Linked DNA regions of Homo sapiens: region 2 is linked to region 1. Evidence: promoter capture Hi-C in 16 types of primary human blood cells and fetal thymus (Javierre and others, 2016). All regions are on one chromosome and are shown on one strand. The core of a region is centred on a gene start or on the middle of the fragment in contact, and the rest is flanking DNA. Distances in the headings are between cores, read along the strand shown. Region 1 holds the start of NEDD8 (NEDD8 ubiquitin like modifier). Region 2 has its middle 23 kb from the start of DHRS2.

What was found. Contacts are between HindIII fragments. The CHiCAGO score rates a contact against its expected background, and 5 or more counts as called.
Region 2: a fragment that was not itself captured here is called in contact with the fragment with the promoter of NEDD8 in region 1 in 1 of 17 cell types (non-activated CD4 T cells); the score reaches 5.2 in non-activated CD4 T cells.

The regions. Positions count from the first base shown.
Region 1 is chr14:24,227,895-24,233,616 of GRCh38, forward strand. NEDD8 (NEDD8 ubiquitin like modifier) reads right to left here and starts at 4,473. Exons shown (of 4, transcript NM_006156.3): 1 at 4,356-4,473. The coding sequence starts at 4,373. NEDD8-MDP1 (NEDD8-MDP1 readthrough) reads right to left here and starts at 4,473. Exons shown (of 7, transcript NM_001199823.3): 1 at 4,356-4,473. The coding sequence starts at 4,373. GMPR2 (guanosine monophosphate reductase 2) reads left to right here and starts at 5,035. Exons shown (of 10, transcript NM_001002002.3): 1 at 5,035-5,083; 2 at 5,325-5,446; 3 at 5,585-5,704. The coding sequence starts at 5,360. RefSeq lists enhancers at 4,337-5,202, 4,369-4,663. The HindIII fragment of the contact is 2,879 bases long and covers 2,575-5,453 here.
Region 2 is chr14:23,610,159-23,615,653 of GRCh38, forward strand. No RefSeq gene overlaps it. Among named protein-coding and RNA genes, the nearest start is that of DHRS2, 23 kb to the right of the region's middle. The HindIII fragment of the contact is 723 bases long and covers 1,388-2,110 here.

The DNA.
Region 1 (5,722 bases), core at 3,223-5,722:
GACCAGCCTGGGCAACATGGTGAAACCCCACCTCTACTAAAAATACAGAAAATCAGCCAGGTGTGGTGGCATGTACCTGTAGTCCCAGCTACTTGGGAGGCTGAGTTGGGAGGATCCCTTGAGCCTGGGAGGTGGAGGTTGCAGTGAGCCGAGATCATACCACTGCACTCCAGCCTGGGTGACAGAGTAAGAATGTCTCAAAACAAAAACAAAATGAGGCCAGGCGCGGTGGCTCATGCCTGTAATCCCAGCACTTTGGGAGGCTGAGGTGGGTGGATCACCTCAGGTCAGGCGTTCAAGACCAGCCTGGCAAACATGGCGAAACCCCGTCTCTACTAAAATACAAAAGTTAGCCGGGTATGGTGGTGGGCACTTGTAGTCCCAGCTACTTGGGAGGCTGAGGCAGGAGCATCGCTTGAACCCAAGAGGCGGAGGTTGCAATGAGCCAAGATCGTGCCACTGTACTCCAGCCTGGGCGACAGAGTGAGACTCCATCTCAAAAGCAAAACAAAACAAAAATAATAATAATTCAAAAAGGGGTCAGATATGGTAGCTCACGGCTGTAATCCCAGCACTTTAGGAAGATGAGGTGGGAAGATCACTTGACCCCAGAAGTTTTAGACTAGCGTGGGCAACACGATGAGACCGCATCTCTACAAAAAAATAAAACAATTGGCTGGGTATGGTGGTAGCACACGCCTGTAGTCCCAGCTACTCAGGAGGCTCAGATGGGAGAATTGCTTGGGCCTGAGAGGTCGAGGCTGCAGTAAGCTGTGATGGCACCACTGCACCCTAAGCCTGGGCGACAGAGTGAGAACCTGTCTCAAAAAAAAAAAAAAAAAAAAAAAGGAACTGTAATAAAAAATGTCACTTATATGGTAATTAACAGCTCTTTTTTTTCTTTTTTAAATTAATATTTTCTTCAGATCAGATTAACAGCTATCTCATGTGTAACTACTTTCCTATGTATTTAATTAAGAAATGCAACAAACAAGAGGGGATGGGGCGAGAGGGGGAGATAGAGAGAGATGGGGCACAGAGGCCTGTTTGAAGGCAGAAGGGTGTTGCAGGAAAGAAGACTGGCAATTTTAGAGAAGTACCACATAAATATGGATTCAAAGAAACAGAAAAAATCTAGAATCTTGCTATTCAAAGTGTAGCTCTCAGACATTCAATATCACCTGGGAGTTTGTGAGAAATGCAGAAACCTGTGCCCCACCTTAGACCCACAGAATCATAATCAGCATTTTAGCAAGACCACAGGTGATAGGACACTGTATTTTCAAGTTTCCACACACAGCATTGATTTTTTTGTTCAAACAGTTATTTTATTTATTTATTTTTTGAGACAGTCTCACTCTGTTGCCCAGGCTGGAGTGCAATGGCACGATCTTGGCTCACTGCAACCTCTGCCTCCCAGGTTCAAGCAATTCTCCTGCCTCACCCTGTCAAGTGGCTGGGACTACAGGTGTGTGCCACCACACTCGGCTAATTTTTGTATTTTTAGTAGAGACGGGGTTTCACCATGTTGGCCAGGCTGGTCTTGAACTCCTGACCTCGTGATCCGCCCGCCTTGGCCTCCCAAAGTGCTGGGATTACAGGCGTGAGCCACCACGCCTGGCCTTTCAAACAGTACTTTTTAAACTGCAGGTCTCAACCCATCAGTGGGCAGGTCTCAACCCATCAGTGGGTTATGAAATCAACTTAGAATTGAAAGTCTGAGAGCATATCACAAATAGCAAAGTTTTTGTGCCTTATGGGTTGTGACATAAAATTTCTTAATGTGGAGTGAAATTTTCAAAAAGTGTACAAAACACTTAGCATTAGTAACTTAACTTCTTTGGACCTAGTGGACATGAGAACCCATATGCATTGAAAAGCCAACAGAAGTATTCAACAGGCCGGGCGCGGTGGCTCATGACTGTAATCTCAACACTTTAGGCGGAGGTGAGCGGATCACTAGGTCAAGAGATCGATACCATCCTGGCCAACCTGGTGAAACCCCGTTTCTACTAAAAATACAAAAATTAGCTGGGCGTGGTGGCACACCCTGTAGTCCCAGCTAGTCAGGAAGCTGAGGCAGGAGAATCGCTTGAACCCGGGAGGCGGAGGTTGCAGTGAGCCGACATTGCGCCACTGCACTCCAGCCTGGTGACAGAGGGAGACTCCGTCTCAAATAAAAATATTCAACAGTTAGTGTTTCTCAAGATTTTGACAGTGATCCATTCTAAAAATTAGTATGAACTAGTAACACCCCCTGTGTAATATACATATAAAATAAAATAAAAAATTTCAGGCCTGGCAACAGAGTGAGACTCTGTCTCAAAAAAAAAAAAAAAAAAAAAAAAAAAGGCCAGGCACGGGGGAGGGTGGCTCACACCTGTAATCCCAGCACTTTGGGAGGCAGAGGCGGGCGGATCACGAGGTCAGGAGATCGAGACCATCCTGGCTAACATGGTGAAACCCTGTCTCTACTAAAAATACAAAAAAATTAGCTGGGCGTGGTGGCAGGCGCCTGTAGTCCCAGCTACTCGGGAGGCTGAGGCAGGAGAATGGCATGAACCCGGGAGGCGAAGCTTGCAGTGAGCCGAGATGGCGCCACTGCACTCCAGCCTGGGCGACAGAGCGAGACTCTGTCTCAAAAAAAAAAAAAAAAAAAATCATAAAACAATATCCTTACCTAGCACTATATTATTTCCTATTTTCTCCCCCTCTCTCTTTCTTTTTTTTTTTTGCAGGGGGAGATGGAGTTTCACTCTTGTCGCCCAGGCTGGAGTGCAATGGCGCCATCTCAGCTCACTGCAATCTCCGCCTCCCAGGTTCAAGGGATTCTCCTGCCTTAGCCTCCGAGTAGCTGGGATTATAGGCGCCCACCACCACGCCCGGCTAGTTTTTGTATTGTTAGTAGAGGCGGGGTTTCACCATGTTGGCCAGGCTGGTCTTGAACTCCTCACCTTAGGTGATCCACCCACCTCGGCCTCCCAAAGTGCTGGGATTACAGGCGTGAGCCACTGGGCCCGGCCTTTTTTTTCAGGCAGGGTCTGGAGTGCAGTGGTGCCATCACTGCTCACCGCGGCTTCGACATCCCAGGATCAATCAATCCTCCCATCTCGGCCTCCCGAATAGCTGGGCCTACAGGCATGCGCCCAGACCCTTGGCTAATTTTTTGAATTTATTGTACAGGCAGGGTTTCGCCATGTTGCCCAGGATGGTCTCCAACTCCTGGGCTCAAGCGATCGGCCTGCCTCGGCCTTCCAAAGTGCTGGGATTACAGGCGTGAGCCACCGCGCCCAGCCTATTTTCTCTTTTTAATGGCGCCAGTGACCCATTCACCTATTAAATTGATGTTACGACTCTTATATAGGCCGCTACTCAACGTTAAAAAAAATCATCTTTAACATACTATTTTAATACTAGACCTCAAATCTTAGCTAAGAAGTAGTTTGGAAGGACTGGGGAAGAGAAGGTTAAGAATGACTATTATGTACGGTAAATATGCTAAGAAGCTGATGAAATAACGATAGATTTACTTAGCTACAAAAAGGCCAAACTAGCATTAGACTTCACTTGTCAGCAGTTTTGTTTTTTTGAGGGGGGCGTGGGGGGGGGGGTCTCTGTCTGTCTGAAGGCACAAAAGAGGAAACAGCAGATAGGACTAACGAGGGCTGGAAATTGGTGAAGAACCACCACGGGAGTTGAGAGATGCAGATGAAGGAAACCATGGCTAGTAGCAAGAACTAGGGCAGCGGTAACTAACCTGCCTCAGCCAAGGAAGTGAGGCTGGTCCAGGATGCCAGGCTCAGAAAGGCAGGTACTGACTGAACACACTCCCCGCTTTGGTTCCTGTAGGACGGGTGAGATACCACACCTTGGCAACCACCAGTAAAGGCTCATAGTCTAGCCCTTGGGAGGCCCCGATTTTAGGGCTGTGCTCGGAGGCGACCTACGTTAGGGACTGGGAGAAGCAGGTACCCTGGGAATGAAGAATGGAGAGCAGCGCTTACTCCAAGAATCTGAGAGACGGGGGAGTCAAGCCGCTGCTAGGCCTTCTCTATGACTGCGGGGGTTCGAATACAGTGAGACCCGACAAAAGCGACCCCATTCTGGGTGATAGCACAGTCCTGGCAAAAAAGCAGGCATGGCAAAATACCCCAGGGTCGTCAGGTGGGACCTGGGCCCCGCTCTCAAAGCCCTTCTGGGTCCCCCTATTTCCCACCACCCCTCGCGCGGAGCCCTGAGGCAGTCAGCGTCCTCCAGGCTAGGGAAAGGCGTGGTTTTCCTTCCCCACGTCTCCCGTAAGGCACTGCTGCCAGCCCAGTACTACTGCGTCTTGGCAAGGCTGGAGGTGCTCCCACCTTCACTTTAATTAGCATCTTCTTTCCAGTTTGGGGCTGCACACGGATAAATTGCTGCTCCTACCGCTCCGGTCGCCGCTGCCGCCCTCCAGCACTCTTGCCTGCAAGGGCCACTTCTACTTCCGGGTCACTGTCTGGCTCCACCCCCCCCCCCCCCCCCACTGGGTTCCGGAAAGGCTCAGGGTTGCTCCCGCGTTTCGGTTCAGTGACGTCGTAAATTGGAATGAGGCATCCAGTTTAGCAACAGCAGAGATGACGACTCTGCGATTCTGAGAGTCCCTGGCGAGCCCGGGCTAGCGAAAAGTGGGGGCAGAACGAACTACATCTCCCATCGTGCCAGGAGGCGGTCCCGCCCGTTTCCCCCTGGGAGTTGTAGTCTAACCCCCTCGGATCCAACAGCAACCTCAGTGCGTGAACTCTGTTATCCAGAAGGCCTCGCCCTGCCGCCGCCGAAGCTGGAATTCGTCGGCTAGTAGTTCTCGCCGGCAACTAGAGGAACCTGTTGGCGTGGCCCAGAAGGCTTAGCGGGATTGCACGAGGTTAGTTGCTAAGCAAGGTGGTCTTTGGTCAACTGCCGCCTGGACCAAGGCAACAGGAAGTGAGTACCTCTATTCCGGAAACTAGTTATGAACCCTCCCCGCCCCCCGTCGCCAACATTCCTTCGTTCCCCTAAATCAGCCTCTTGCCCCATTGCTCTTTGCAGGGGTAGAAGAAGGAAGTGTAGCGGGGTAAGGAATGCACCGTCAGGGTCTCTCACAACCCTTTCCCAGCTCTCCTCCCCAACAAACAGTACCTGGGATGGAGCCCTAGGGTAATCGCAGCCACGGGATGGGTCGAGGTGACAGGCTTCAGGGACCACACTTCGGCCTTTGCCCGACCTTCCACAACTTAAGCGAAGAGAGGCCACCAGCCGTAACAGGGCGTTAAAGCCCAGGGGAAGATTGGTCCTTATGACTTCCTGCCTTCCAGCCCTCAGATTCATCGCTACCCCGAGGCTAAGCGCCATGCCTCATATTGACAACGATGTGAAACTGGACTTCAAGGATGTCCTTTTGAGGCCCAAACGCAGTACCCTTAAGTCTCGAAGTGAGGTGAGCAAGCTTCTCTACTTGCTGTTTCTTGACCCCACGCTCCCGGTGGGCCACAACCAAGAAAGATGCCTGTCCTTGTCCTAATATGGTACGTTTTTTGGATTAATGAAATGGTCAATTTCCTGTTCATATCTGCAGGTGGATCTCACAAGATCCTTTTCATTTCGGAACTCAAAGCAGACATACTCTGGGGTTCCCATCATTGCTGCCAATATGGATACTGTGGGCACCTTTGAGATGGCCAAGGTTCTCTGTAAGGTAGGGCTTTCCTCATGC
Region 2 (5,495 bases), core at 499-2,998, 620 kb before region 1:
AAAACCCAGTGTAAGGGGCCCATTGAGGTTGCACCAGAGCCCCTGTGACCCGTTTAATCATCTCCCACAGCTTCTGCACATCGAGAGAAGCAGGGGCAGCCTTTAGCTGAACTAGGTAACAGCCTAGTTCCATTGTCTGAAATCTGGGCAAACTGTGAGGTGTAGTTTACACTCCAGAACTGACCTTTGGGACCAGGCTAAGGCTGGGGCTTTGCTGAAACATTCCCTTGCTTGTCCTCCTCCCTTCCCTGTCTTACTTTCCACACTCCCTTACTGGTTTCTCCTGGGAGCATTTTTTTAATTTTTATTTTTGAGACAAGGTCTCACTTTGCCACTAAGGCTGGAGTGCAGTGGCATAATCATAGCTCACTGTAACCTCAAACTACTATGCTCAAAGGAACTTCCTGCCTCAGCTTCCTGAGTAGCTGGGACTACAGGCACACATGACCTGATCAGCTAATTTTTAAATTTTTTGTAGAGACAGGGGTCTCACTATGTTACTCAGGCTGGTCTGAAACTTCTGGCCTCAAGCAATCCTCCTGTCTTGGTCTCCCAAAGTTCTGGGATTATAGATAGGAGCCATTGCTCCCTGCTGGGAGCATCTGTTTAATAAACTACTTGCACATAAAGCCTTGTCTTAGGATCTGCTGTGGTAACCCAACCTAAGACACTTGTAACAGTGGCTTAAACAAGACTGTAGCGGGCCTCATATCGTGCCTTCGTGATCAGACTGCCTCAACATTGTAGTCCACATCCTCAACATGTGCCTTCTGAGGCCAAAGATAGCTGCTTTGTCTCCAGTCATCAGAGTCATGTTCTAGACAGCAGGAGGGAGACAAAGAAAGGAGGTGGGCATGCTCCTTCCACTTGAGAACACCTCATGGAAGTTTCATCCCTGACTTCTCTATAACCTTTTATGCAGAACATGGTCAGGTAGCCGTGCCTGGCTGCAAGGGCAGCTGGGAAATATAGCCTTTATTCTCAGTGGTCAATTGCACAGCTAACATTTTGGAATATGATTACTGTGGAAGAAGAGGAAACAGACATTAGGAGACAACTTGTAGTTTCAGTTACATGCTCCTTCTCATCTCTGCCTGTCCAGAGTCTTCCAAACCCAGTGCAAATGCCACTTTCACCTCAAATCCTTCCTTGAGCTACTAGTTAAAAGTTATCACTCCCTCATGGCACTTTGTGTGCCCTTTCCTTGTGACACCGCAGTTTTTCTACCTGGCTTGTAGTTACTTAAATATGCCTTCCCCACAGGACTGTAGACATCTTTAGAGTAGAGGGCAAGCTTCAGTGAATTTCTGAGTTGAAAATTGAAATACTACAATCCCATACTCTGGAGAGTGTGGTTTTGGAGCCCGACCAATCTGGTTCAAAGGCAAGCTTTATCTTTAAACCAGTTATACAACATTCATTTGCTTATTCTACAAATATTTATTGGTGCTTCCCCTCTGTCGGGCACTATTACAGGTGCTGGAAACTTGGTGGAGAACAATACAAATAAGCACCCCACTCCCATGAAGGTCATAAAGGATGAGGGTTAAGAGCACAGATTCGGCCAGGCACGGTGGCTCATGCCTGTAATCCCAGCACTTTGGGAGGCCAAGGTGGGCAGATCACCTGAGATCAGGAATTCGAGACCAGCCTGGCCAATGTGGTGAAACCCTGTCTCTACTAAAAGTACAAAAATTAGCTGGGCGTGGTAGCACACGCCTGTAATCCCAGCTATTCAGTAGGCTGAGGCAGGAGAATTGCTTGAACCCGGCAGGTGGAGGTTGCAGTGAGCCGAGATCACGCCACTGCACTCCAGCTTGGGCGATAAGAGCGAGACTCCGTCTCAAAAAAAAAAAAAAAAAAAAAAGAGCACAGACTCCATAGCCAGACTGCCTGGGCTTGCATCCCAGCTTCACGACTTACAAGCTGTGTGACCATAGATAAGTTACCTTGCCTCTCTGTTGCTCAGTTTTATCTTCTGAAACACAGAGATGTTCAGAGTGCAACTTTTCAGGATAGTGGTGGAGACTAAGTGAGTTTACACATATAAAGTACTTAGAACAGTGCCTGGCACAAAATAAGGACTACGTAAGTGTTAGTTATTAGTATAAGCTTGCAGAGCTTACATTCCAGTAGGTGAGGAAATAACCTAAACAAACAAACAAAAAATATTAGGCAGGTGATAAGTGCCATGAAGAAAATAAAAGAGAAAAGTGGGAGAGAGCGCTGCTGAGGATCTGTCTCATACCAGGTGAACAGGGAATGTCTCTATGAGGGTTGACATTTAACAGCAATGAAGTGTTTGTGGGAAGAGCTTTCAAGGGCCAGCAGATACAGGGACTGTGAAGGCAGGCCTGACCTGGCCGGCTGGAGGCTGAAGCACGCAGGTGGAGGGGAAAGTGCAGTAGGATGGTCTGGGAAGAGCTTGGGGCCAGACACCGTGGGGGCTCTGTAAGTTGGGGAAATAATTTGGATTTGATTCTTAGTACAATGGCAAGCCATTGCAGAGTTTTAAGCAGTGGAGACTGATGTTTAAAATGCTAATGCTGTCTGCAGGTGGAAAGAGAATAGCTTGTGAGAGTGTATGAGTGGAATGAAGTGGTCAGATGAGAGAGCGCGGCGGAGATGGAGAGAAGCGGAGAACTTGATGCATATTTTGGAGGCAAAATCAACAAGATTGGCTGATGGATTAAAAGCAGAAGGTAAGGTGAAGAGAAAACTCAAGGGACACTCAAATTTTTGGCTAGAACACTTTTCGGAGATGGGGAGATGTAGAGAGAGAGGTGGGTGGGAATCAAGAATTCTACTTTGGTTACATTCAGTTGGGCAAATCACTTCAGCTCTCTAGGCTTCAGTTTCCTTATCTAGAGTAGGAAAATAATAATAATAATGTCCTCTTCTGTGGACAGAAGAGCACTGTGGTTAAGGGAAGAGAAGCCTGGGCTGTTTACTAGCTATGTGACCATGTGCCAATTACATTATCTCTCTGTGTCTCAGTTTCCTCATCTGTAAAATCAGAACAATCCTAGTACCTATCTCAAATGGTTGTTATGAAGAGTAAAAGATTTAATATTTACAAAGTGCCTAAAATAGTTTCTGGCACATGGTAAAGCTACAGTAGAATCATAGATATATAAAAACAAATAGGGTAGGCCGGGTGTGGTGGCTCATGCCTGTAATCCCAGCACCTTCAGAGGCTGAGGTGGGAGATTGCATGAGGCCAGGAATTCGAGATTAGCTTGGGCAACATAGCAAGACCCTGTCTCTACAGAAACTTAAAAAATTAGCCAGTTGTGGTGGTGCACGCCCATAGTCCTAGCTACTTGGGAGGCTGAGGCAGAATTGCTTGAACCCAGGAATTCGAGGTTGCACTGAGCTATGATCATGCCATTGCGCTCTAGCCTGGGTGACAGAGCGAGACCTCATCTCAAAATGCAAACAAAAACAAATAGGGTAGAATTGAACCTTGTATTAGATAAGTGGCTCACCTCCACAAGCTAATCATTAACCATTGTTAAACAAAGAAAGAAAGAAACACTTGTCCCCTCTGGAATATACTAGAGAGATCTGCCCAATTCCACATAATCTCTTCCAGAAAATGGAAGAGGAGGGAATATTTCCCAATTCATTTTATAAAACTTGTTTTATGCTGATATTAAAACCAAATAAAGACAGTACAAAAAAAGAAAAAGGAAAGCTACAGTCCTATATCCCTCATAAATGTAGATGCAGAAACCCTTAACAAAATATTAGCAAATAGAATTCAGCAGTTTATAAAAAGCAGTATATACCATGACCAATCATGCAAGTCTCATTCAATATTCAAAAATCAGTCCATGCAATTTACCATACTAACAGGCTATTTTTTCTTCTAAATGTTTTATAGTTTTATGTTTCACCTTTAAGTCTGTGTTCCGTTTTGAGTTAGTTTCTGTGTAATGTGTGAGGTTTATGGGGAGGCTGACTTAATCAACACTCCTGATACTGGAACCCAGGAGGGAGTAAAGGGAGAGGGAAGGCAGGAAGGAGCACAGGGGGTGGAGGAGAGTCCTGGGGATGTTCTGTGTTTTATATTGTGAAATGAACACCTTACCAATTCCTAGAAAAATAAAATAACGTATGACTTGGCAACAGTTTGTTGAATCAATAGCTAGGATTTACAGACAGAATATATCCTCAGGAAAGAAGGGGATGGGGGGAAAGGCTCCTGAAGGTCCTTGGCATGCAGACTTGGAGGACATACCATCAATCTTTCCATGAATTAACCTCTAGTTTCCAGGAGCCTGAGCTGTACTCACCTGGTGAGGGCTTGGGGGTGGATAGGAATTGACAGACCCTTGTTTATGTATAGTGTCCCAGAGGAAGAAACTGGAGCTCTTTGCCTGCTGACAGGGGATGGTGGGAAGTGGGTGGCTGTGTGGGAGTGCTCTCTGGGTCATTTTCCTCAGGGCAGGGTGATGGGGATCTGGGGGAAGCTCTGTCCGGGGGCTTGGCTATTTGTCCTGCTCTGCATGGGAATGCCCAGGCAGTCCCAGATGCCCCTAGGGCAATCTCGAACCTACTGCTCTGCCCCTCTGTTGCCAAGTGGGCAACTCAGACCTGGGAGGTTAAGGGTGGGAAGGCATTATAGGGGAGAGGGTCATTTGGGTTCAGGAAGGTGGGCAGGTACAGGTTAGGAAACAGATTAAAGGCTTAGTGAAAATGGGAGGCCCTCTAAATGAGTCCCTGGGAGTTTGGGAGTGATGGCGCCAGATTCCCTTCTCTCATCTTTTGTAGGGCAACAGACTGCCTCATCTTGCCATCCTATACCACCCAAGGGGTGTGAGAGCCAGGGTGGGACATACAGGTGATACAAATAATTTGATGAGTGATTGTGTCATTGAAAAGTGGCAGCCCCCAGGATTTCTTTCACTGACTTTCTATCCAGCAGGCCTTCAGTGATGTCAATGTATAAAGTTTTATTATCTCTCAGCCTTTGTGTGGGCTTCTCCAGCTAACGCGATACAATAACTTACCCTGGCCTTCTCCCAGCTCTGGCATGGGGTGGCCAGAAGTATTTGGGGCCAGACATGTAACATATGGGAAAGGAAAGGAGAAAGGGCTGGCTGCGGTGGCTCACGCCTGTAATCCCAGCACTTTGAGAGGCTGAGGTGGGTGGATCACATGAGGTTAGGAGTTCAAAACCAGCCTGGCCAACATGGTGAAACCCCATCTCCACTAAAAATAAAAAATTAGCCTGGTGTGGTGGCAGACACCTGTAATCCCAGCTACTCAGGAGGCTGAGACAGGAAAATCGCTTAAACCTGGGAAGCAGAGGTTGCAGTGAGCTGAGATTGTGCCACTGCACTCCAGCCTGGGCAACAGAGAAAAACTCCGTCTCAAAAAAAAAAAAAAAAAAAAAAAGAGGAGAGAGAGAGTTATCATCCTATCACTGCTTGCTATGTTCCAGGTATGCTGCTAGGTGCTTCACAGGTACAAACCACTGCAACTCATTG